Regions from separate parts of the Homo sapiens genome. Here all the other regions are linked to region 1. Evidence: promoter capture Hi-C in human tissues and cell types (Jung and others, 2019). All regions are on one chromosome and are shown on one strand. Each heading gives the region's core, a stretch centred on a gene start or on the middle of the fragment in contact. The rest is flanking DNA. Distances are from core to core; before and after follow the strand shown.

Evidence for each region. Contacts are between HindIII fragments. The study calls those that stand out against the background at their distance.
Region 2: a fragment that was not itself captured here is called in contact with the fragment with the promoter of NUDT6 in region 1 in 1 of the 25 tissues and cell types used here (mesenchymal stem cells).
Region 3: a fragment that was not itself captured here is called in contact with the fragment with the promoter of NUDT6 in region 1 in 1 of the 25 tissues and cell types used here (mesenchymal stem cells).
Region 4: a fragment that was not itself captured here is called in contact with the fragment with the promoter of NUDT6 in region 1 in 1 of the 25 tissues and cell types used here (lymphoblastoid cells).

What each region holds. Positions count from the first base shown.
Region 1 is chr4:122,918,109-122,924,795 of GRCh38, reverse strand. It overlaps NUDT6 (nudix hydrolase 6), which reads left to right and starts at 2,199. Exons shown (of 5, transcript NM_007083.5): 1 at 2,199-2,461. The coding sequence starts at 2,224. It overlaps AFG2A (AAA ATPase AFG2A), which reads right to left and starts at 1,718. Exons shown (of 16, transcript NM_145207.3): 1 at 1,491-1,718. The coding sequence starts at 1,653. RefSeq lists enhancers at 1,357-1,726, 1,519-2,055. The HindIII fragment of the contact is 4,244 bases long and covers 191-4,434 here.
Region 2 is chr4:124,112,187-124,119,136 of GRCh38, reverse strand. All of the region lies in intron 2 of LOC105377407 (a long non-coding RNA gene), which reads left to right. Among named protein-coding and RNA genes, the nearest start is that of LINC02516, 440 kb to the left of the region's middle. The HindIII fragment of the contact is 3,459 bases long and covers 3,578-6,950 here.
Region 3 is chr4:124,273,094-124,279,067 of GRCh38, reverse strand. All of the region lies in intron 3 of LOC105377406 (a long non-coding RNA gene), which reads right to left. Among named protein-coding and RNA genes, the nearest start is that of LINC02516, 280 kb to the left of the region's middle. The HindIII fragment of the contact is 3,439 bases long and covers 2,948-5,974 here.
Region 4 is chr4:121,918,201-121,924,510 of GRCh38, reverse strand. The region is part of intron 3 of TRPC3 (transient receptor potential cation channel subfamily C member 3); the gene reads left to right. Among named protein-coding and RNA genes, the nearest start is that of TRPC3, 31 kb to the left of the region's middle. The HindIII fragment of the contact is 6,061 bases long and covers 771-6,310 here.

The DNA.
Region 1 (6,687 bases), core at 950-3,449:
TTAAAGTCTTCACCACAGAGAGCTTGAGAAGCATTTGGCTAAAAGGCAACCACATCAAGGCGCAAAAACAAAAGATTTACAAATATAAATCTGACACTGAAGAGACTATAGATGGGAAACTCTGGGCACTGGATGAACTTGCCAAGGAGACAGGATTTATTGAGAGGAAAAAAAAGGTTTTGGACTAAGAATTGACGAACTTCAACATTTAATGGTCAAGGGAAGAGGACGAGCCTGCAAAGAAAAATGATGAAACATCAACAAAGATGAAGAAAACCAGGCAAGTTTGACAACACATAAGAAGTTAAGTGTTTCGAGAAGGAGGGAATGGTCAACAATACCAAAAGTTGCTGTGGTCACGTAAGGTTTATCAACACGGAGATGCTCGGAGACCACACCAGGAACAGTTTCCATGGAATGATGGGGTGGAAGTCAAAGAGGAATAGGCTAGGGAGAGTATGTAAGTGGTGAGGCGGCAGAGACCACTCCATTTAAGAAGCTTGGCAATGGATAGAGAGACGGTTGCAGGAAGAAAATGTGGAGCTTTTGTTCTGATTTAAGATGGAAGAGAAATGAGCATGTTTACATGTCAATGGGAAGGATCTAGTTCAAAAACAAGTTGAACCTTCAGGACAGAACAAGTTGTCCTCTGATACCTAAGGCAGAGTGAAAATACCATGTGAACTCTAAATTGTCTTTAAGGTCTGATTAGACATAAAAGTTTTTGCCACTAGTCTGGTCCATTTTTCAAAGCTATTACACATCAAATATAAATTTTCAATTTTTAATTCAATTTATAAGACTTTTCAGTATAAATACGTTCTCCCAAATCAAAGGAGCTGTCATCTAGGAATGGCTTTTAAGTCAAACACATCTGGACTCAAATATCGGCTCTGCCACTTAGCACCTGTGTAGCCTGAATGGAATCACGTTAACTTTCCTCCCTCTATAAAACTGTCATTACTATACCCATCGGTCACGGCTTCTGTAGAAATTAGATGAGCTATATATACTGCTAACACTAGTGTGCAGTTACTAGCAGTTATTAAATATCATAACCTGCGTAGTACTGGAAGAAAATGCTATCATCACTCCTAAAGGCAGAGTGATCCACATTTTTACTGAATTGGTTATTTAGTTTTTTAGGATAAGTATCCCATGTTCGCTAGTTATGAACAATTTTGCAATTAAATGTGTCGTTAATGTTAAATGAGACAAAGCGTTTCAAGTGCAACTTAAAAATTCAAAATAATTTACAAAAGAGAAACCTTGGACACGGATAAACCATTTCAGCCTAACTTCTCCAGTGCAGGCGCGGCTACGTTTGCATGCTTCTTACATACAGAAGTCTTACACGCTTCTGTGCCGCTCTCAGACCCATGCCACGCCCAACTTTCAAAAGTCTCTGCACCCCAAGTCAGTATCACTGAGTCTCCCGCCCCTCAGGTTGCGCCCCCTCGGCCTCTAGTCTCCCACCCGGAATTCTTTACCCTTTTCTAATAAGTTGGTCACCGTCAGAGTCCCGGAGGTTGCCGCGAAGTCTGATCCAGCAGAAGGAGCCCGTGCCTCCGCACAAGAGGAAGCAGCAGAGGGCAAGGACGAACCATTTTCCGCGCTTTGGTTCAACCGCTTTCTATTCTTCTTGGAAGACATGGTCACAAGGTACCCTAGCCGAAGCAGTAGAAAAGCCGACTCAATGTGCGCGCTTCAACTGAGAGAAAAACTTCCGGGGCAGAAGTCAGCGAGGGTCCGCCCCTGCGCCGTAATCCCCTGAGTGGAGCGCAGCAGTGCACAGCGTGGTGGGAGGGACTGAGCGTTTTCAAAACCAGCAGTCTTTGAAACAGCTGTAACGGCATCTGTGAAAGAAGATAGGTTCCAGGAACGGAACTGCCACTTAGATTGTAAATTCCTGAAAAACAGGACGTTTTTGCATCTCCTCCCGGCTTCCCCATCCCTAAACCAACGTCTGTTGAATTAAACTACCAAACAAAATAAGTGAGTGGCGGTGGGGGAGGAGGTTTTCCCCGCTTAACTGGAGCGGGGCAAATTGCTGAGAAGGGCTGGTGGACCACTTCGCGGTCTCCTTGGCATAGCTCTGCAGAGTGGTAACCCCAGCTCAACTCTGAGGGTATTGATGGCACTCTTCTAAAATGTACGGCCGCGATCTCCGCTCTGGAGCGCGGAGGGGTCATTTGGGCAACGGACGAATTAAGCGGCGTGGAGATGCGGCAGCCACTGAGCTGGGGCCGCTGGCGCGCGATGCTTGCCCGAACCTACGGCCCCGGGCCTTCGGCGGGTTACCGCTGGGCCTCGGGCGCACAGGGTTACGTGCGGAATCCGCCAGTTGGAGCGTGCGATCTGCAGGGCGAGCTGGACAGATTCGGGGGCATCTCGGTGCGCCTGGCGCGGCTCGATGCGCTGGACCGCCTGGACGCTGCCGCCTTCCAGAAGGGCTTGCAGGGCAAGTGCGCCTGGGACGAAGGGCTCCCGGGGCTCCAGAGCTTTTCTAATGAAATAACCGCGGCCCCCACTCCCTAGTCGCTCTGTGCACCACTGTCGAGCCCAGAGGGAAAGGGAGAAGGCACGCGTGACCTGGACCTGTTTTCTGGAGCATTCGTGCTTAGACCTTTTGCTGGGAGGTCTCTAAGGCGGTTGGGTGAAATGGTGAAGATCCCGGACTTTGGGATCTGCAACCCTGGTTGCTGGTCCACTTTCTACTGTGCGACATTCGGAAATTGCCGTAAACCACCATTTCCTCTTCCACAGACCCCGGTGATAAGAACTCCTGGAATTACTGAGAGTTAATTTGGATAATGCACATAAAGTGCACAGCACAGTGCCTGCCACGTATTTAAAGCTCAGTAGATGTTTGTTAATATTATATTATTACATTATTAGTATCCTTTACCGAGCCTTGGTTCTGTCGGACACTTTTCCCAAGGAAAAAAACTCTTACATTCTAATACGGGTGGTGGACTGAGTGGACCAAAGAGGCTTTTCTTTTTTATTTTTAATTTTTGTGGGTCCATAGTAGGTGTGTATGTTTATGGGGTATATGAGCTATTTTGATAGAGGTATAAATGTGTAATAATTACATCAGGGTAAATGAGATACTCATCACCACAAGCATTCAACCATAATCCAGTTACTCTTAGTTATTTTTAAATGTACAGTTTGTTTTTTTTTTTTTTTTTTTTTTTGAGAGAGGGTATCATTCTGTCTCCCAGGCTAGAGTGCAGTGGTAGGATCAGGGTTCACTGCAGCCTCCAACCCCTGAGCTCAAGCAATCCTCCCACCTCAGCCTCCTGGGTAGCTAGGACTACAGGCGCGCATCTGGCTTTTTTCTATTTTTTCTAGAAACGGTGTCTCACTGTGTTGCCCAGGCTGGTCTCAGTCTCCCGGGCTCAACTGATTCTCCCGCCTTGGCCCCTCAAAGTGCTGGGATTACAGGCAGGAGCCACTGCACCCAGCCTGAATCTTTATTGAATATAGTCACCCTGTTGGGCTATCAAATACTAAACCAGAGAGGTTCAGAGTGTCACATTTGTATACAAATTGGGTCAACAGCTGTCTCAGCGAGAACTGGAGTTTTTTAGAATAACGCTTCTTTTATGATTAACCAGGGACGGTGGTGGGTGGTTTCAGTCTTCAATAAGAAAACTTTTTACTGGCTTTCAACCTTGAGCCCAATGATAAGAAAGCTTGGATGGAGGAGCCTTCACTTTGGAAGAAGTCGATTTAGTGGTGCAGCAGTTTTTCAAACGGCCTCTGAGGGTTTTATAATCTAATTGAAGGCATAGCATGCAAATTCAACTATGGAAAAATCTCTCACACTGGAAACTCAAAATAATCTTTATCCTATTGAGCAATATGGCAAGAAGCATATCTGTAAATATAATTGAGCTAGTTATTTCAATGTTTACTCATCCTCATTCCCAGACTTCTTACCTCTTCACATTATTTTCTCTCCTACTTGCTAGTAATTGCTGACAAGCCCGCTTATACTGCAACAGTGTCACTAATAGGAGAATCAATCGTTTTATCTTCCAGTGTGTGGGTAGACACAGGTGTTGTACCCACTGATACTTATCAATGACCAAACAGGTGATCAAAGCACTACCCCAGTCAGCATGACAAAGCAGAAAGCTGTGCGATTTGGAGGTGCACATTCTGGGTTTAAGTACCAGGTTCTGCCATGTGCTTAGCCAGGCATTAGGCAAATTGCCACCAAAAATATTTGCTTCTTAGCTTGCTTTTTGTGAATAACGCCAGCTCTAATTACTGGATAGATGCGTTGATCAAAGATGAAACTAATTTGTAAACTTAAGTACCAAATACTTGTTATATTTTTTCAATAAAACAAATTTTGTTGCACTTAATGGTAGATGTTTTAGGATCTTTATAAATAGTAATTAATCCTCCTAACAACCCTTTGAGGTAGATAGCATTATTATTCCTATTTTAAAGATGACAGTAGTGAGGCACAGAGAGAAAAATTTACTTGCCCTGGCTCTACACCTTTCTTACTGCACTATGCTACCTTGAAGAACTCCTGCTGGTTCTGTTGTTATAATTGAACAAAACTAACTGAATGGTAGTGCCTATAAAGAGAGACTATTTACACATGAAGTCCGCTATTCTTAGTCTTTATGGACTAAGAAGTCCATATTCTTGGTGGAATAAGAAGTCAACTATTCATATTCTTTTAGAACATGAACTATTGATGTTTTGTTACCAACAACTGAAGTTAGAGGGATAAACAGGCAATATGTTGTTAGCTTCACACATAACATATCTGCATCAGTAATGAAATAGCACTGGTTCTGGTCCCTGCTATGCCACTCACCAGCTATGTGACTTTAGGCAAGCCAGTCATTTCATTAGTACAAATTGAGCCCCAGTGCATAATGTAGGGTTACCCTGGAGGATTGCAAATGCATGGAATATTAAATAGAATTGGAAAAAATAGCTAATGGAAGAGATATCATTAGGTCATATGTAATAAGTTCTAATAAATTGTACAGACATAGTAGTCTTTAAATTCATAATGGTGAGCTCATGAGCAGTGGTTAGGAAAGACTGGTCAAAGATGTGGAATATGAGCTGGACTTTAAAGGATAGATATTAGCAATGGGAATGGGAGGTGAGGGAAGAAAAAGCAATAAAGCTTATTAGGGAAAAGAAGAAAGCAATTTAAAAATGATTCTAAGGTTTCAAGCATTGGTGCCAGAAATAAATAAGCTTATAAATGAAGCTAGTTTGGGGTGTAAGATTCAGTTTTGGCCAGGCGCGGTGGGTCACGCCTATAATCCCAGCACTTTGGGAGGCCGAGGCGGGCAGATCACGAGGTCAAGAGATCAAGACCATCCTGGCCAATATGATGAAACCCCGTCTTTACTAAAAATACAAAACTTAGCTGGGCATGGTGGCACGCACCTGTAATTCCAGCTACTTGGGAGGCTGAGACAGGAGAATCGCTTGAACCTAGGAAGCAGAGGTTGCAGTGAGCCGAGATTGCACCATTGCACTCCATCCTGGTGACAGAGCAAGACTCCGTCTCAACAACAACAACAAAAGATTCAGTTTTGAACACACTTTGTGAAGTCTGAAGTGGTAACCTTCAGGACAGGAAATGTCTGGGAGCAACTGGAGAACAGAAAGTTTAGTGTTCAGTGAGGTCAGGGCTGGGCAGCCATCCTCATGTATGTATCAGCTGAAGCAGTGAGAGTGGATTCTCCAAGACACAGAGTGTAGATATAAAACAGCAAGCAAATAGCATTGCTTTTAGAAAGTAGCCTTTTAATTTGATTGGAAGGATTGCCTGGGAAGGAGCACATGTGAAATGTATGGAGTGATAGAAATGTTCTATAATGTTAAAGTGTGTTACGGGCATATGCATATGTCAAATCGCATGAAATGTACACTTAAGATTTGTACATTTCACTTTATGTACTTTACCTCAATTTTTAAAAGATGTCATCAGACAAAGAGAGCAAGGTGAGAAGGACCTGATCCCATAATTCCACTGCATGCTAACTCAAATCAGGAAGTCTTTATTAAAGGCCCCATGTGCCTGTCACTGTGCTAGGCACAGCAACTTTCAAAGAGGTAGAGAACATTGTCCTTAAAGAGAGGAGCTTCCTGCAGAGCTAGGGAAAAGAGAAGGGAAAGTTAATTAACTATTTGATATATAATCAACCCCCAAAGACAGACACACACACACGCTTTATAGCGTTATTATAAAGATTAAGTGAGATGATGGATGAAGAAAGTGATCTGAAAAGCTTTTCTAAAAACTCTAAATCTGAAGTATTTATTTCTTCACCCATAAACTTAAGGTAGTAATACCTTTCATGGTTGTGCACTTAATGAGATAATATATATAAAGTGCTTGGAACTTAGTAAGTTTCAAATAGATATTAGCATCTTTTTCCCCTGGCTCAATCTTAAGTAGTAAAGAGAATTTAAAGAAGGCAAAGATAGAAAACCTATAATTATGTTCACCATGATATTATCTATAATAAGGAAAAATTAGAATTTTATTCCTATATGCTAGTAAAATGTGAAGTTTGATTTCTTCATATTTTTTATTTTCAAAATTTCTACAACCAGCATACATTATTTAAAAACAAAGTTTAACTACCTTGAAATTTATACATTAAAAACATTATAACAGAACTCCTAAAG
Region 2 (6,950 bases), core at 4,058-6,557, 1.2 Mb before region 1:
CTTAAGTTGACAGGTTCTGTGTCTAAGAACTAGCTCTGGAAACTGGCCAAGGGTGGTGATTTTCTGCTGAGATGGGTGACCTCAGTCCCCTTCCTATTTGTTTTTGATCTCTTTCAATTATATAGTTCTGTAGGTTAGCCTCCCCTTGGTGCCACTGTAATCTTGCTGCCTTGAAGGTAATTCCACCTCTGTTGCTTCTGATAGCTAAGTGCCGCCACATGGCTTCTCAAATTCTGTGATCCCATCATCCCATTGCTACCAGGGAGCACAGTTTTGTAACACCCTCTCCTGTCAGTCTTGGAGAGCCAATACTGAACAAATATCCTCCTCACTAACACATTCAATGATCAATTTGATAAACTGAGTATTTTTTTAAATTATTTTTTGAGACAGAGATTTTTGCTCTTTGTTGCCCATGCTGGAGTGCAATTGCGCGATCTCAACTCACCACAACCTCCACCTCCCAGGTTCAAGCGATTCTCCTACCTCAGCCATCCAAGTAGCTGGGATTACAGGCATGCACAACCACGCCTAACTAATTTTGTATTTTTGGTAGAGAAGGGGTTTCTCCATGTTGGTCAGGCTGGTCTCGAACTCCCGACCTTAGGTGATCCACCCGCCCCGGCCTCCCAAAGTGCTGGGATTACAGGCGTGAGCCACCTTACCCAGAAATAAACTGCGTATTCTTTATGGAATCCAAGGAACATAGTTAGTAAATATTCTGGTCTAATATAGTAGACATATTCCAGCATGACTACTTCTTTAAGACTTTTAATCTTTTCCTTTATAATTTGGCATGATTATTCTGGCATCTCTCCTTCATTGAATGTGGGTCATCACTTTTTCCAAGCTTCCCAGTGCCATCCTATCATGAATTAATACTCTAATGGCAACGTGAGTTGTTATCCTTGGGTCCTTGCCAGGCTGTTAAATTCTGAATCATAAGAAACTGCCCTATATTGACCAAATATCCATTTTCTAGTTTTGTGTTCTATTCTCCTCAATGCAGTACCTTAAGAATCCACTCCTGAGCACATGTCATCTAGTCCTACAGGTCCTATGGCCCACAGTTTCTCTTCTTCCTTGTCAGGTCCAGTGATTCTCCAATTGGGTCGTGCTAAGACTTGTCCGATTATCAATCTAGTGGTCAGGATGAAAGGTTGGGGTAGATACTGAAGAGAGCAATTATTATGGCACCTGCCTTATTTGCCTCTGCATAATCTCCCCATCAAGGGAATGGGCCACTTGTGCATCACAAAAACACACAGGTATCTATATGTGAACATAAATCTAAAAATGTCATCAGGGCAGGTTTTTTGTTTGTTTGTTTTGAGACGGAGTCTGGCTCTGTCGCCCAGGCTGGAGTGCAGTGGCGCAATCTTGGTGCTCACTGCAAGCTCCGCCTCCCGGGTTCACGCCGTTCTCCTGCCTCAGCCTCCCGAGTAGTAGCTGGTACTACAGGCGCCCACCACCACGCCCGGCTAATTTTTTGTATTTTTAGTAGAGACGGGGTTTCACCATGTTAGCCAATATGGTCTCCATCTCCTGACCTCGTGATCCGCCGCCTCGGCCTCCCAAAGCGCTGGGATTACAGGCGTGAGTCACCACGCTCCGCAGGGGCAGGTTTTTATCACCGTCATGTCTCACTCAAATATAAGTGCTATGAAAATCTCCTAAATCCCTTTGCCACTACCACCTCTCTGGATTTCAGTGGGGTTGACATATGCTTGTCCTGGCTCTCTAAATGTGGCTGTCCACTTGGGCTAATTTAGATGCATGCAGCTCGGCCAAGCAATGTCACAGGCAAATATTGATTGCTTCTCCCACTACACATTTTTAAATCTTTTGCTGAATCAAAACCTCTATGCCTTATCCTGCTCAGGTTTGAAACTTTGGACTTTCGAGAGCCTAGTCTGGGGAGAAAAGGTGCTTTAACTGTTTCATTTTCTTTACCTTTCCTTTATTACAATTCGAACTCTATTCAAAGAAATGTGTTTGTTTCTAATTTGCAGAGACATGCAGAAATAAAAAAAAACACACAAAGATAAATATTTCAAGATACTATCTTATTCCGTGTGTGTGTGTGTGTGCACCTGTGTGCCTGTCTGCATTTTTATTTATCTAGTTAATACCCTGAATTTATTGCAAAATTCTGAAAGGAGAAAAGATGTTAAGTAAACAGGATATTACTATAACAGAAAAACCTCTCAGTTAACTGTACTTAATTAATTATCCTTTTAGCACGGTTTAAGCTGTCTGTGCTAAGTCTACAAGAAACATGAGAATATTCTGGTTACAATCACCTCTTACTCTCTGATTTGCACTATTTCTTTCACATACATTTTCAGTCTTTCTCCTTATGAGTCTCTGAATCACTTCCTAATAACTGCATATTTTTAAGATGGTATTTGCAAATGAAAATAGCATAAATTATTCTTTGTTACTTATCTAAAAAATCGTACAGTTGATCTTTGAACAATACACGGGTTAGGGCACCAAATCCCCAGGGAGTAAAAAATCTGCATGTAACATTGGAGCCCCACAAAAACTTAACTGCTAATAGACTATCGTTGACCAGAAGCTTCACTGATAACATAAGCAGTCAATTAACACATAGTTTGTAGGTTATATGTATTATATATGGTATTCTTACAATAAGATAAGCTAGAGAAAAGAAAATGTTAAGAAAATCATAAGCAAGAGAAAATATATGTACTATTCATTAAGTGGAAGTTGATCAAAAAATTCTTCACCTTCATCATTTCACATTGAGTAGGCTGAGGAGGAGGAGTTGGAATCGCTGTCTCTGGTATGGTGGGGCGGAAGAAAATTCACATATAAGTGGACCTGTGCCGTTCAAATGTATGTTGTTCAAGGGTCAATTGTAATGTGAAAAGTTTTCAGAAAAGGATGATTGCATATATGCATTTACATAGACAGCTGCATATAAACATACACATTACAATGTTCAAATTAGTTCATCAGATTGGTTGATACTCCTTTAGAACAGTGGTCTTCAAAGTGGACATGCACTAAATGATCCACAGATGTGCCAGAATGATAAGAAAGTAGTAAAATGTTCTAACATGTAATATAAGATGGATACTGTTGCCCCACTCTGTCAGTATGCCAGAAGTAACATATCACACATGAGGGGAAAGAGGGCTAGCTAGTCCTCACTCTCAGAAGTAGATAATGGTCCTTTTTTTCCATTCCTTGCTTTCAGAATATGGTCATTTATGAGTACTGTTAAGTGGATTTTCAGATTTAATTATTTAAAATAACAGAGTCCCATAATACTTTGTATCAGATGGAAATAACAATAAAACATTCTCTTTTTTAACCATATGTAGGTTCCTTGATTATCTAAAGCCTTTTTTTCCTCTTTACCTCAAATACATAGCTTTGGGTTAATCGCACTCTTCTGTTTATGATACAATTGTCATTGATCCATAGAACAAATGTCCCCTCTTTTGTATTATTTATTTACACCTTTTTATCTCCATGCCATACCATCCATTGTAAGCTACTTTCCTAATGCTTTTGATGTAGTATTTTTTCTTGTACAAATTCTCATAAAATATGTATTACTATTTTGTATTTATATATGTATTTTAATTTATATAAATATGAATTTTTTTACTTAACTCATCACTATGTTTTTAAGACTCACCCATGATTGTTTCTATTTATATATCCAGTATGAGCCTTTCAAGTGCTGCTACAATATTCTAAAGCATGCACCCACACTATTTCACTAACCATTCTATCAGAGAAGTATGCTCAAATTCCAAAAATTCTGGAAATTTTTGTGCATATCACCATTTGTACATATAACCTTTATTTCCATAGAATATTAATCTGGGAGCAAGACTGGTGAGTAGTGGAATATGCATTTCCTCTGTTTAAATATTGCCAAGTTATTCTCCAGAATGGTTGTCTGAAAGGTAGGAATCTATACTCCCACCTACAGTGCATGGAGGATACCTATAACTCTATATAGCTATGAGTATCTCACCTTTCAAGATTCTGCTAAACTGATGGTAAAATTCTATAGAGTTTTACATCTACAATTGTTGCTTTTATTTGCATTTTATTTACCAATGAGCTTGAGCCTCTCTCATTTACTTTTTAACCTTTTGCAATCTTCATCTGTGAACTGTCTCTTAAACTCTTTGCACATTATTCTACTGAAATTTAGATTTTTTTCTCCATAGAAGTATCATATATTCTTTATTAAGTAAATTTATGAACACTTTATATTTCTCAGTTGCTTATTAGTAGAACAGATAAATGCTACTGTTTTTTTTTCTTAGTCAATCCTGTGCCCAGAAACCTTGCTGAATGCTCTTATTCTATTTTTTTCTAATGATTCCTTTGGTTTTTCTTTATAGGTAATCATACTGTATGAACATAATATAGTCCTCTTTTCCTTGAGGACTTACACCTCTTATTTCTTCTTTTTAAATTCTTTGAGTGTTGAATGAAACCTAGTCTTATGCTAAATAGTGGCAATGATAGAGGATAACTTTGTTTTATGTGTACCCTTGATGTTAAAGGAAATATTTTAAGCTTCTCCACTAAGGATGCTATTTACTGGTACTTTGATATAAAATATCTTTCAAATTAGGGAATATTTTATTTCTACATTTCTAATTATTTATTATAAATATGTTAAAATTTATCAAATTACTATTTGCATCTTTTAAAATCCTCATATTTTCTTTCTCAGTTTATTAATGAGAGCTTTAATATTGAAAGAGTTTCTCATGTTTATCATCTTCTCATTTCTGGGATTAAAAATACCATTTGATTTTGGTATATTTTTTAATATGTTAGATTTATTTATTTAATATTTTGTTTTGGATATTTGCCTCTAGGTTTCTAAGGCAAATATCCCAATAATATCCTTACTGTTTTTTGTTCTTGCTTAGTTGTGAAATCAAGATTCTACTAACCCTGTAGAATAAGGTGGACAGCTTTCGCAGTTTTCTCATTTCTAGAAACACATATAATATAAAAAATAACTATTTCTTAAATGTTGATTAATGTCAAATATAAAACAATCTGGGTTTGAGCAGTTGTGGGAGGCTCTAACACTTTGATTATCAGTTCAATTGCACTGTTCTGTTTGAGTGTTTTATTTCTTCTTCTACCTTTTTGACATTTAATACTTTTTCCCATAATTTACCCTGTATATAAGTATGCAACTTTACTAGCAAGTTCTTGATTATAATGCTCTTTATTATTTTCTTCTCTCTTATTTTTTTGAGTTAATTTTTACTTCCTGAAGAATGTTACTTTCTAAAGCTCAAATTTTTAAGTACCATTTATGTCATACATGCATTTTCTTTAAGTTTTAAATATTTTATAATTTTCCTCATTATTTCCTTTTTGAAATCTAAAACACATATTATTGTTTTTATAAATACAAAATTTTGTTAGCTACATTCTAATTTTATAATATTATGGCCAAAGAACCTAGTCAGTATGTTATTTGCTTTTTTGGAATTTATTGAAGATTCCTTTGAGCAATAGTAGAAGTCAATTTTTATGAATTATCAATTTATAATAAAAATGCATATTTTATCTTTGTTAGGTTTACAGCTGTATAAATATCTAATAGTTTAAACTTGCACATTATGTTTTTTACATATGCTATGTTTGCCTTTTTTCTTTTTTTCTTATGTTTGATTTCTTGGTTTCTGAAAGGTAATGTTAAAAATCTCTAACTACAATGGTTAATATATCTATTTCTCCATGCATTTCTGTTAGTTGTGACGTTATATACTTTGAGGTTTTATTATGGAATACATCCTCATGATGGTTATGTCTTCCTTTATTGTTTCCTTACCAGTATATAAACATCATCTTTGTCTTTTTCAATCATTTCTGGTCTTGAATTCTATATTCTGAGATATTAGCAGCTAAAGATGAACTGTGCACTTTCCTGTAAAAAAAGGCCTGTGATCTAAATATGCTGACAACTCCTGTGAAATCTTTTAAGTAAATGTGCCCTGTTAACAGTGACTAAGACAGTAATTGCTTTTTAAAAACAAATGTGTGCTATGAGGAGAGAATCTTTCAAATGTATACTTAGAAATGTTGTTTGTTGTTTTAGATTTGGGCTGTCTGTAATAATGTAGAAGGAAACCTTATTCCCAAGAATCACCCTCGTGACTTCTTTCCAGCCCCCACTCACCCTTTTCCATGGGAGAAGAAAGTATTTTCCCACTTGTTGAATGTGGGAGAAAAGAAAGGGCATGCATAGACAGCTTCTCTCTATTTGGGGGATCTATCCTTGCAACAAGCTCAGCAAATACACCTGAGTTTCCAGGGGCTAATTGAACTCAGGAGGATGTAGAAGAGCTAGCTGATTTGACTGCTTAGTCACATTTTTATTTGAGGTTTATTAGAAATAAAGCATTTGATATATCTTTCACCAGAAAGTGCTTCTATTGGAGAGAAACTATGTATTTAAGAAAGCAATACCTAGGTTTTATGAGTGAAATGTCTTAATTATGGAGATGCTCTCTACATCTTAAGGTGGAATTATAGAAAAGAAGTAAGCACTAATATTCCTGACAAAAAGAAAAATATACGTTTTGAACATTTAATTCCCATTAATAGTGACTTTCATTCTCATTGGGAGAGAGTCTTTCTTTTCTAAGATCAGATATGGTGCTAATACATAACTCCTCCCCCTGCTGCTTAGTTCTGAGGTTCAAAAGACTGCCAGGTGGCTTTTATCAACCCATGGAAAGCAAAGGATTTTTGCCTCAATTAAATGGTACTTTTCCAAATCTGTTTGTGAGCGGATTTAGGCATTGAAGCCCCAAAGTCACTTTAATAGGTGTGACTAGATTTCCATTTACCAATTAAAAATTTACCTTTTCAGCTGTCTGAACACTGACTCATAGGGTTTTGATTTTCTGTTAGAATAGAGTGAC
Region 3 (5,974 bases), core at 3,418-5,917, 1.4 Mb before region 1:
CATGAAAACATAGCTCAGAATATTCAATCAGGACTCATGAAAATTGAAGATTGGTCAACATTCTCTTTATCCTCTCTTCATGGTATACATGGTCTCTTGTCTTTGACTCTTTCATCATTTAAGTTCTTACAGTTCTATCAGCAGAAATGATTTTCCTGAATTCTCACACTCTTGCATATTCTCTATTTTTCGTGATGAGAAAAATAATTTGTTTGGTTCACCTTGTTTTAATTTTGCATTCCTGAAAAAGGTAATTTGGTTTCCCTAAAGAAACTAAAAATAACATTTTAACATATGTTCCTGAGTTCTTTTTCAGAAATCCAGACCCCCACCAGATGGCTCCTCTGGTATGTAGATCTCAGATAAGGAAAAACTGTGGACTGAATTCTGACAGTTGTTCTTTGTTCTAAAATTCTTTCTTAGGTGCCTGGAGGAAGTCACACCCATGGGCCAAGGCTTACATTCTTTTCTACTGACCACAAAATTTTAGACAAACCTTCACCTCTTTAACCAATTGCAAATCAGAATATCTTTTTTATTTTGTTTTGTTTTGAGACAGAGTCTCAGTCTGTCGCCCAGGCTGGAGTGTAGTGGCGCAATCTCAGCTCACTGCAACCTCCGTCTCCCAGTTTCAAGGGATTATCCTGCCTCACCCTCCTGAGTAGCTGGGATTACAGGCATGCGCCACCACGCCCAGCTAATTTTTGTATTTTTAATTGAGACGGGGTTTCACCGTGTTGGTCAGGCTGGTCTCGAACTCCTGACCTCCTGATCTGCCCACCTCTGCCTCCCAAAGTGCTGGGATTACAGGCGTGAGCCACCGAGTCCATCAGAAAATCTTTGAGCCCACCTATTCCCTGTGAATCCTGCTTTGAGATGTCCCACCTTTTGGGGTCAAACCAATATATAGCCTCTATGTATTAATTTATGACTTTTATTAATTTATGACCTTTGCCTCCCTGACTATAAAAACCCTTACGTGCAAGCCATCAGGGATCTCAGGTTTTAAGCATGAACTAACTGATTCTTGTTGCTTGATGTCCTGCAATAAATGCCTCATTGCAGTCCCAATGTCAGTGTTTCGCTTTACTGCACTGGGCAGCAGACCCAAGTTCATTTTAGTAACAACAGGTCATACACCTTGGTATTAGGCTGTTCACCAGGATAAAGGAGTATCCTGTGAAAGCCACACTGTAAACATCCATGACCACCTACCCTGGAATGCTGTCAGGGCAAGGCTGGAGTTTATAACCAATCTCAAGAGAAAGACCTCAAGCCCAAATTAAATAAAAATGCTACAATACTACAGAACAAAAGAGTTATGCACCATGTTTGAATCTTGCCCTTGAAATAACTGAGTGTGGACAGGCATGGTGGCTCACACCTGTAATCCCAGCACTTTGGGAGGCCAAGGTGGGTGGATCACTTGAGCCCAGGAGTTCAAGACCAACCAGCCTGGGCAACATGGTGAAACCCCATATCTACTAAAAATATAAAAATTAGCCAGGTGTGGTGGCATGTACCTGTAGTCCCAGCTACTCAAGAGGCTGATTCGGGAGGATCATTTGAGCCTGGAAGGGTGAAGCTTGCAGTGAGTCATGATTGTGCCACTGCACTATAGCCTGGCCAACACAGGAAGATGCTGTCTCAAAAAAAAAAACAAAAAACAAAACTGAGTGTGTACTTTGATGTTGCCTTTTCCCTTTCAAGTGGCTGGGAGCTAGTGAGAGCCAGAAAAACTTTCTTAAACCCATAACTAGAAGCCATTTGTTCAATGTGGCAGAGATGCCTATCCATCTTGGATCAACTGCCTGTATCTGGACTATTACATGAGAGAGAAATAAATGTTTATTTTTTTAAAAACAAAGTAATTGTATTTGACATCTATTTAAAATAAATATTTGTACAAGGAGGATGCTAGAGTACCTATAGAAGATTTATGCAATTTGGCTTAGCAGGAAAGCAGCAGATGTTGAGAATACAGAAATTACTGATTAGAAATCCAGTGATACTTATTATACTATGACCATTAACTGAATGTGGTGAAACTGTTACCTGTGATCATTTAAAAAGCAAATCAAATGTCCGGAGAGCCCATAACTTTAGTGGAACTCATCAGAAAAAAATCAGAATATTTGTGTGTGCTGGCTAACAGTTTGCATCTTTTAAACAAATCACTGGAGAGAAATAGAGAAATTCTGATGAGGGGTTCTCAAGCAGATGTGGAAAGTAATGTGTTCTGATAAGGTAAACTCTTTGCCTGCATCCTGTAATCTAAATAAACTGTGATGTGAGTCAAGTAATTTTGAGCCTTAAACAATGTTGGAGAGCCAAGGTTGCTAACCCCTAAACATAATGGGATAAGATTGAGACCTGAACTTTATTAGAGGGCCTTCTGTCTGACTCAAGAGATCTTGACCAGACAATGGAACTCAGCCCAGATCACAGATTAGATTAAATGAGTTGTTTTTCAATCCCTATTGCTTCAGATAGCCTCAAGGTAGTTGCTATTAAATTGAGGAAAAGACATGAGCCAGCTTAACAGGCCAGTAACTAAAAAGGATTTGGGTGGGTTTAAAAGTTATGAGGAGGCAAGATCCTTGGCTGTATTTAATGTCACATGAAACTGACTACAAACATATAGACTGAAAGCCTACTAGATTTTAGGTACTTGTATTAAAAAAGACATTGCCACTCTAAAGTACAAATGTTTATGATTAACCTACTCCTAAGTAAACCCCTGAATCTCCAACCTGCAAAATAAGATTGTGCAACCCCCAAGCATGTATACTCTCCAATGTGCATGCATGTGTATGCATGCAATGTGTATGCATGTGTATGTGTATGCATGGCCACGTCAAATGTGGCCAAAGACAACAATAGACAAGAAAAAGTCCCTCAGATCTCATGGAGGACAACAGATAAGGAAGTTCTTCCCAGAAAGTAGATACAGATGCTAACCAAAATAAGTACTCTATTGCCTTGACAGGGAATCTTCATAATTTCTGCTTCTTAGGACCCCTTTATTATTATGAATGTCATTTTTCTACTTGTCCTTTTTCAAAATGGAAAGTTGATAGCTATCTTATTTCTGGTCCACTACTAAATACGGAAGGCAAAGATTCATGGTAATTGTCTATTATTTTATACATTGCTTGATCCATTGTCCATACCTGGTGGAAAATTCTGCATATCACTCAAATAACATGGCTGGATAATAATTGACTAGGAATTATTTGAGTCTTCCTTGGGAAATGGTGAGTGAGTGGGAAGAATGATAACTATGAATATTCCCATAATCAGAGGTTTAGTGAAAGATCACTACTAGTCACCCAGAATCCTTTTTTCTCCTATTATGATACACTTTTAATCAGGCACAAATCTACACAACCTAATACTAAAATTTTGACCTATATATGTCCAAATAACAAACGTCTGGCCTGTGGAATTTCAGCAGAAATGTTCTGTGCCATCCAGTTTTTGTCTTTATTACTATTATCATTGACTCCCCAAAATATCACTTAAAATATTTGTTAATCAAATAAGGCTATGTTTATGAAACTTACTTCATCAAGAGACAATGTAATCTGGACAGTAGTTTCTTGGAAAGGAGAATTCAGTGAATAATATTTTTAGACCTTTAGGGCTTGGGATGAGTGATTTTAAGGTGAGTCTTGCAAGGCAGAGCATAGTTGAAATCAGACAATATTGATGACATGATAATTTTGGATTGAGTGCACCGAAGGTAAAAATATTAAAGCAAGCCTTGGCTAAAAGGTTTTTTCTTCATAAGTAAGAAATTTTAGGCTGGGCGCAGTGGCTCATGCCTGTAATTCCAGCACTTTGGGAGGCCGAGTTGGGCGGATCATGAGGTCAGGAGATCAAGACCATCCTGGCTAACACAGTGAAACCCCATCTCTACTAAAAATACAAAAAATTAGCCAGGCTTGGTGGCAGGCACCTATAGTCCCAGCTACTTGAGAGGCTGAGGCAGGAGAATGGCATGAACCCAGGAGGTGGAGCTTGCAGTAAGCCGAGATCGTGCCATGGCACTCCAGCCTGGGCAACAGAATGAGACTCCATTCAGCATAGCTGAACAAAAGGCACCAGAAACTTCTGCAGACTTAAACGTCCCTGTCTGACAGCTCTGAAGAGAGCAGTGGTTCTCCCAGCATGGAATTTGATCTCTGAGAATGGACAGACTGCCTCCTCAAGTGGATCCCTTACCCTCATGTAGCCTAACTGGGAGACACCTCCCAGTAGGGGCCGAATGACACTTCATACAGCTGAGTGCCCCTCTGAGACAAAGCTTCCAGAGGAAGGATCAGGCAGCAATATTTGCTGTTCTGCAATTTTTGCTGTTCTGCAGCCTCCACTGGTGATACCCAAGTAAACAGGGTCAGGAATGGACCTCCAACAAACTCCAACAGACCTGCAGCTGAGGGACCTGACTGTTAGAAGGAAAACTAACAAACAGAAAGGAATAGTATCAACATCAACAAAAAGGACATCCACACCAAAACCCCATCTGTAGGTCACCATCATCAAAGACCAAACGTATATAAAACCACAAAGATGGGGATACACCAGAGCAGAAAACTGAAAATTCTAAAAAACAGAGTGCCCTTTCTCTTCCAAAGGATCAATGCTCCTCGCCAGCAGCAGAACAAAACAGGACGGAGAATGACTTTCAGGAGTTGACAGAAGTAGGCTTCAGAAGGTCGGTAATAACAAACTTATCCGAGTTAAAGGAGGGTGTTTGAACCCACAGCAAGGAAGCTAAAAAGCTTGAAAAAAGATTAGACGAATGGCTAACTAGAATAAACGGTGTAGAGAAGACCTTAAATGACCTGATGGAGCTGAAAACCATGGCATAAGAACTACATGAGGCATGCACAAGCTTCAGTAGCCAATTTGATCAAGTGGAAGAAAGGGTATCAGTGATTGGAGATCAAATTAATAAATGAAGCGAGAAGAGAAGTTTAGAGGAAAAAGAGTAAAAAAAAACTGAACAAAGCCTCCAAGAAATATGGGACTATGTGAAAAGGCCAAATCTACATTTGATTGCTGTACCAGAAAGTGATGGGGAGAATGGAACCAAGTTGGAAAACCCTCTTCAGGATATTACCCAGGAGAACTTCCTCAACCTAGCAAAACAGGCCAACATTCAAATTCAGGAAATACAGAGAACACCACAAAGATACTCCTTGAGAAGAGCATTCCCAAGACACATACTTGTCAGATTCACCAAGGTTGGAATGAAGGAAAAAATGCTAAAGGCAGCCAGAGAGAAAGGTCAGGTTACCCACAAAGGGAAGCCCATCAGACTAACAGCAGATCTCTTGGCAGAAACTCTACAAGCAGGGAAGATTGGGGGCCAATATTCAACATGGTTAAAGAAAAGAATTTTCAACCCAGAATTTCATATCCAGCCAAACTAAGCTTCATAAGTGAAGGAGAAATAAAATCCTTTACAGACAAGCAAATGCTGACAGATTTTGTCACCACCAGGCCTGCCTTACAAGAGCTCCTAAAGGAAGCACTAAACATGGAAATGAATAACTGGTACCAGCCACTGCAAAAACATGCCAAATTGTAAAGACCTTCGATGCTAGGAAGAAACTGTATCAACTAATGGGCAAAATAACCAGCTAACATCATAATGACAGGATCAAATTCACACATAACAATATTAACCTTAAATGTAAATGGTCTAAATGCTCCAATTAAAAGACACAGACTGGCAAATTGGATAGAGTCAAGACCCATCAGTGTGCTGCATTCAGGAGACCCATCTCACGTGCAGAGACACACATAGGCTCAAAATAAAGGGATGGAGGAAGATCTACCAAGCAAATGGAAAGCAAAGAAAAGCAGGGGTTGCAATCCTAGTCTCTAATAAAACAGACTTTAAACCAAAAATGATCAAAAGAAACAAAGAGGGCTATTACATAATGGTAAAGAGATCAATTCA
Region 4 (6,310 bases), core at 2,552-5,051, 1.0 Mb after region 1:
TTTGTGGGGGGTAAAGTTGCAAGTTAAATGTGTAGCTTCTGATCCTTTCTACTTTTTACCCATGGTGGGACCTTGAATAAGTCATAAATTTTTAAATTTCAGTTCCCTCATGTACAAGGAGGATAATATCTCTTATCTATCTCAGGGTTTTGGTGGAATTTAAATGAGTTAAGATATGCAAAAGCACTCTGTAAACTGTTAATTACAATACAATTAATAATGCTGTTACTTGTATACATTTTTGTAAGGCATTTTTACATTGTTATGTGAATCCTTGCAGCAAGTCTATGTTATTATTCATTTTATCTATAAAATACATCAGATAGATGATGGGGTTTCTATTCTACAAGGAAACTGAGGATTGCCAAGCTTCAATGACATGTCTAAGGTCACATAACTAAGGAGTTGGTCATGCAGGTGCCAGAAATAAAAATTATGATTTTTTTACTCTGATTATTGCAGAAAAACTGTTATGTGTATCTATTTGCTAACTTGTATGGGGCTTTTAAATAATTCACAAAAATTGTAGTTATGTTTCACAATAATAAATATCTCAGTTATCCAGAATCCAATACTTTATACATGTTATATAACAGACTTTCTTGTACTTTAAGAGAAACTGATAAATCACAAAGAAATAAACTGTTATCAGCTCTGGTTTTATGAAGTTGGTCAATTTACAAAGAGCCAAGTGTTCTGTCTTTTCTGCAGTGTGACATGGTGCTTAAGAGGACAGGCACTAGAGCCAACCTGTAAGGATTCATGTCCTGACATCACCATGTGCTCCTGTGTGACCATGAGCAAGTCACCTAACCATCCAAGCCTCCATCTGCTCACTAGTAAAGTGAAGACAATAGTTGTACCTACTTATTCATTTGTTTAAGGATTGCATGAGATAATGCATGTGATTAGCACACAGTAGTACATGGTGATTTCTCAATAAGTATTTCTCAATAAGTATTAGCTATTAATAATAACATTTCTACATTATGAAAATTCATACCCAGAGTGATGACTCTTAAGCTAGTTAATCCTCACTCGTCAAAGACAGATTTCATGCCCCTTGTACTGAATCAAGTCCTTAGTAAGAGGAGTTGATTTAGGCAGGAAGGAATTTAGTAAGTGATATTGAGGAAGCTCACAGAATCCTAAGAGGAGGTAGAGGAACAAGCTTATCTAAGCTGTGCTTCCAAAAACCTCACCCAGAACCAGGCACAGTGCTGACCTGTTAAGGGAGTTTCTGTGGCCCAAACAGAACAATTCTGCCTCTGCTGCTCCCATATCAGCATAGAAAGGATGCTCTGCATCCTGCCTGTTTTCATATGGCCCCTTCCACTGATCAGTGGAACCTAAGCCAATGTTTGCACCCTAGCAGCAAGTGAGGATGGGGAAATCTCTCTCTCTCTCTCTGTGTCTCTTTCTCCTCTTTCTCTCTCCCCTCCTCTCTGTCTCTCTCTCTTCTGACACACATAATTCTACTACCACAATGTAGAAAACTTCTACACATAGTATTTGCAAGATTTTGGTCAACCATTAATGGCAGATCTCTTCTCTACTTCATAAGATAGTCAAATGTGAAGATTCTCAGTAAAGATTGAAATAAAACAACTTTTCAAGGAAAGTATGTTACAAGATAATTAAATTGGCTAGATTGCCCTCTCAGAGCATTCTTGCTAGTTGAGGTTTTGTTATTAATATATTGAGGGAAAAGGATAGTTTTGAGCAAGATTGATAGTAAACTGTTTTTTAGAAAATTGTCTAGACATATATTCACACATCCTGCAATATGTATCTCTTTTCTTTGGCACCTGAGAGAATTGATTTCAATTGTCACTGGTTTTTTATCATTGCTTTGGAAGTGTTATATGAGCAGAGACACCTCATCTACACTTGTGCTTCAGTCAACTAAACTGCCTTGCAGAGTTTATGTCTTCCTGCATGTCAATTTTAAATAAATTGGCATGTAGGTTACAAAGTATGAGGTGTCGTTAGTAATAAATTGGTATCAGTCAACCATCAGGCAACAACAAAAAAGTTAGAACTGTAAGGAGATTTAGGACTTTTGCAAACTTCTGGTTTTGTTTGTTTTATGCTATAAAAGGAGTATTAATTAGAGTCTTTGATTTGGAATCTTCACTCAATAACTGTATGTAAGAATTCTATTCTAGAATAATAAATGTATGTAAGAATTCTGTTCTAGAATAATAAATGTGTGTAAGAATTCTATTCTAGAATACTTGCAAAGCCCCAATTTCTCCTTTCTTTCTTCCTTTCAAAGGCTTCCTTCATGGCCGGGCACGGTGGCTCACACCTGTAATCCCAGCACTTTGGGGGGCCGAGGCAGGTGGATCACGAGGTCAGGAGATCGAGACCATCCTGGCTAACATGGTGAAACCCTGTCTCTACTAAAAAACATACAAAAAAATTAGACGGGCGTGGTGGCAGGCACCTGTAGTTGCAGCTACTAGGGAGGCTGAGGCAGGAGAATGTCATGAACCCGGAAGGCGGAGCTTGTAGTGAGCCAAGATCACGCCACTGCACTGCAGCCTGGGCGACAGAGCGAGACTCCGACTCGAAAAAAAAAAAAAAAACAAAAAAAAACCCAAAAAACAAAGGCTTCCTTCGTTTTCAGTCAACACTCACCCATCTTCATTCTCACAGGAGGAAAAATATCACCCCACCCACTCCTGCTGCTTCCTTTTCCCACCATCTCATTTCTAGTCTCCAAGCAAAACCACGTCTTGGGTTATAATGATGCACAAACCCTGCCCACTCTGGCACAGAGGTAGTCCACAGCCATATGCAAGCCATTGGGATTTCAAAGTAACTTTATATGTTATGGACTCCCCCACCCCCTGATAACATAATAAACTCATATTTATTCAAATCAACCCATAATTCCACCAAGGAAACCATTCTTATCTAATTGTAAGCCAATATTGGCCGCATATGAGACTCAGGAAGTCTTTTTTTTTTTTTTTTTTTTTTTGAGACGGAGTCTCGCTCTGTCGCCCAGGCTGGAGTGCAGTGGCGCGATCTCGGCTCACTGCAAGCTCCGCCTCCCGGGTTCACGCCATTCTCCTGCCTCAGCCTCCCAAGTAGCTGGGACTACAGGCGCCCGCCACTACGCCCGGCTAATTTTTTGTATTTTTAGTAGAGACGGGGTTTCACCGTTTTAGCCGGGATGGTCTCGATCTCCTGACCTCGTGATCCGCCCGCCTCGGCCTCCCAAAGTGCTGGGATTACAGGCGTGAGCCACCGCGCCCGGCCAGGAAGTCTTTTTTCTACCCTCTGCCCAAGACCTACTCCCAGCTCTGGTTCTGAGTCTATTGTCTTCTAACTGGGCTCAGGATTCCCAGAGATCTGGTCTTTCCTAGAAATCAAGGCATGAGTTCAACACAGGCCTTACAGAACTCAAGGACAGTTAATCCAGAAAATGAATATATAAAACACCAGAATAGGAGATACATGACCGTGAATTTAATGTTTATGTTGGAAAGGACTTTCTCATATAAAAGCGAAGAAATCTCCAAGCAAAAATGCAAATAATCTGGCCACATATAATTTAAAACCTCTGTATGACATCAGAAAGATTATAAACAAAAAAGTGAAGGGCATACTAGGAAAAATGTTTTTTCGATTGTATCTCACAAAAGATTGATCTTCTTAATATCCCAAGAACTCAAACAAATTTGTAAGGAAAACATCCAGGGCCCTGTAGAAAAATCAGCAAAAGATTTGAATAGGCATGTCACAGAAGAGAAAATTCAAATGGCTAACATGCATATTTAAAATTTTCAGACCTTTTAGTGATAAACGTATACTAATGTACAAATACCATTTTCCTTCTCTTAAACTAACAAAGAATAAAAATTTACAATTCTCAATGCTGATAGTAAAAGAGCAACCATCTGCCTGCATCTTTACTAACAGGGAATGGATTTTGAAGATTATTCATCCTAAAATCTGTTTTTTTTTCTTTTTTTTGAAATGGAGTCTCACTCTGTCTCCCAGGCTTGAGTGCAGTGGCGAGATCTTGGCTCACTGCAACCTCCACCTCCCAGGTTCAAGCAATTTTCCTGCCTCAGCCTCCCGAGTAGCTGGGATTACAGGCACCCATCATCCATGCCTGGCTAATTTTTTGTTTTTTTAGTAGAGACGGGGTTTTACCATGTTGGCCAGGCTGGTCTTGAACTCCTGACCTCAAGTGATCCGCCCACCTCAGCCTCTCAGAGTGCTAGGATTATAGGTGTGAGCCACTGCGTCCAGCCTAAAATCATTTTTAAGGGGTCTGTAAGGTAAATTTTAAAACTGGAAGGATAGTGAACACTATTACTATTTATAGAAATACCTATATTATTCTTTGAAAAGAGAATGGAATACACTGGAAGATGAAATTTGATTTTCTGAAAATGGGTACAAGAAAATTAAATTTTAGGCAAAAACACTAATTTTGTTTAATTAGAATAATGGACTATTTGCCCCCCACCAAAAGTCTTGAGTTCTAATTCTGACTCTACCTCTATCCTGCTCTGTGATGTGCAGCTGAACATTAATCCACTCCCCACCATAGAAATAACCAAAGTTCTACCTACTTCACCGTGAGCTATGTCTATTTTGAGAAAGTTTTTGACAAAAGATACTAGAGCTTGGTAGACCACTGAATCTGGAAAACTGGGCTCTCAGAAAGAGAAGGAGAACATTTCCTGAGTTCTTCGTTTCTGCTCTCCTATTAATATTTCCTCCATAGTAGGATTAGATTTAAATGTAGAAAAGCCATCCTAAAAAGAAACATGCAGCAGTATAAACAGGATAAAAGCATCCATTGTGTATCCACTTTCTGTGCAAAAAGTGTGCAGGGGAAGCCCAGAATTAAAGAAATGCAATGAGAGAGTGGTAAATACACCACTGAGACGTTGGAACGGGTGTGCTGGCCGGCACAGTCCTGTGTCCTGCACTGTGTGGCCTCTTGTCCTGGTCTTCCCCAGGCACCAAGAGATAACAGAGCATTTTGCACTCAGCAAGTTTGAAAATCCAGAAAACCTGTGCAATATAAGTTTTAGGTTTATATTTCACAAGTCATTGAGTTTTTAAAAGAAGTTGAATTGCCTAGTTTTTATTTACAAGAATATGTTCCTTTAAATTGTATGAATTGTGGCTCTAACAGTATCATTAAAAACAAATCCAGAGTTCCTACCATGATTTTACACAACAGTATTCCCATGAAGACAGTTCTTGTGAAGGCTGATTTGATGAAAAACAGTGTAACATGAATTAATTTTTAAGTTTAAAATTTGATTGTTTTCCCTAGCCTGCCCTGATCAGTGGTTCAGTTTATAATCTATTAGTTATTTGGCAAGAAAAAACATTTCAGTTGTTCTCAATGCTGATTGTCCAATTGAAAGATTGAGATTTTCTTGTGTCAAGCATTCTCTCTTTGAATCAGAAAACTCAAAATAAGGGTATTATTTTTGTTATGACTTCAATTTGCTGGTCCACTGAAGTTAGGAAACAGCATACAAATGTTATCCAGTTGGGCATAACTGGTGTAGTGACATAAGGAGATTTTTCAGGAGGTAAAACACTTTTCAGGTATAAAGGTCACTGCCCTATTTCGAAGTCATTGAAAAGACCAAAACTCATCTCCTAAAGGGATTAGCTTTTTTGCCTTCACTTGCTATTATTGTACTGGCTTTACTTTCTTTTTTGAAATGCTCCTTGTGTACTTGCATTAGGATTTTACATCATTGGAGGAAAATCTGTTTGTGTGGATTAAATGGAATCGACAGAATCCATGAAGTCGTGTATAATTATCTCAAAAAAAAGAGTAGAATTAGAAGCATAGGAAATAGACCTGTTAAGCTGAATTTTAAAGTGTAACAGGCAAAATGCAAACACCCACAATTTTGGTTACTACTTAATGTAGAGTAAGTGTTTGCACTGTAGTACAGGTTACATCAAGTCAAAGATTGACCATCACATATATGCCATATGGGAAGGATTGAGTCCATCAAGTCTTTGAAGCTGTGCAATCTTTATAAATATGTAATTAATGACATAAAGCACATCTTCAAATTTAAAAATTAGTCCAAGGAGGAGGAGTAGGAAAGGGAGATATGCTATAACATTAATATTTCTGTCCTCAAGAGTTTAAAACCTAAGAACGACTAGTGCCTTAGTCCGTTTGTGTTGTTACAATAGAATGCCTGAGATGGAGAGACTTATAAGAACAAAACTTTCTTGTCTCATAGTTCTGGAGGCTGGGAAGTCCAAGATCAAGGCACCAGCAGGTTTGGTAGTCTGGTGAGGG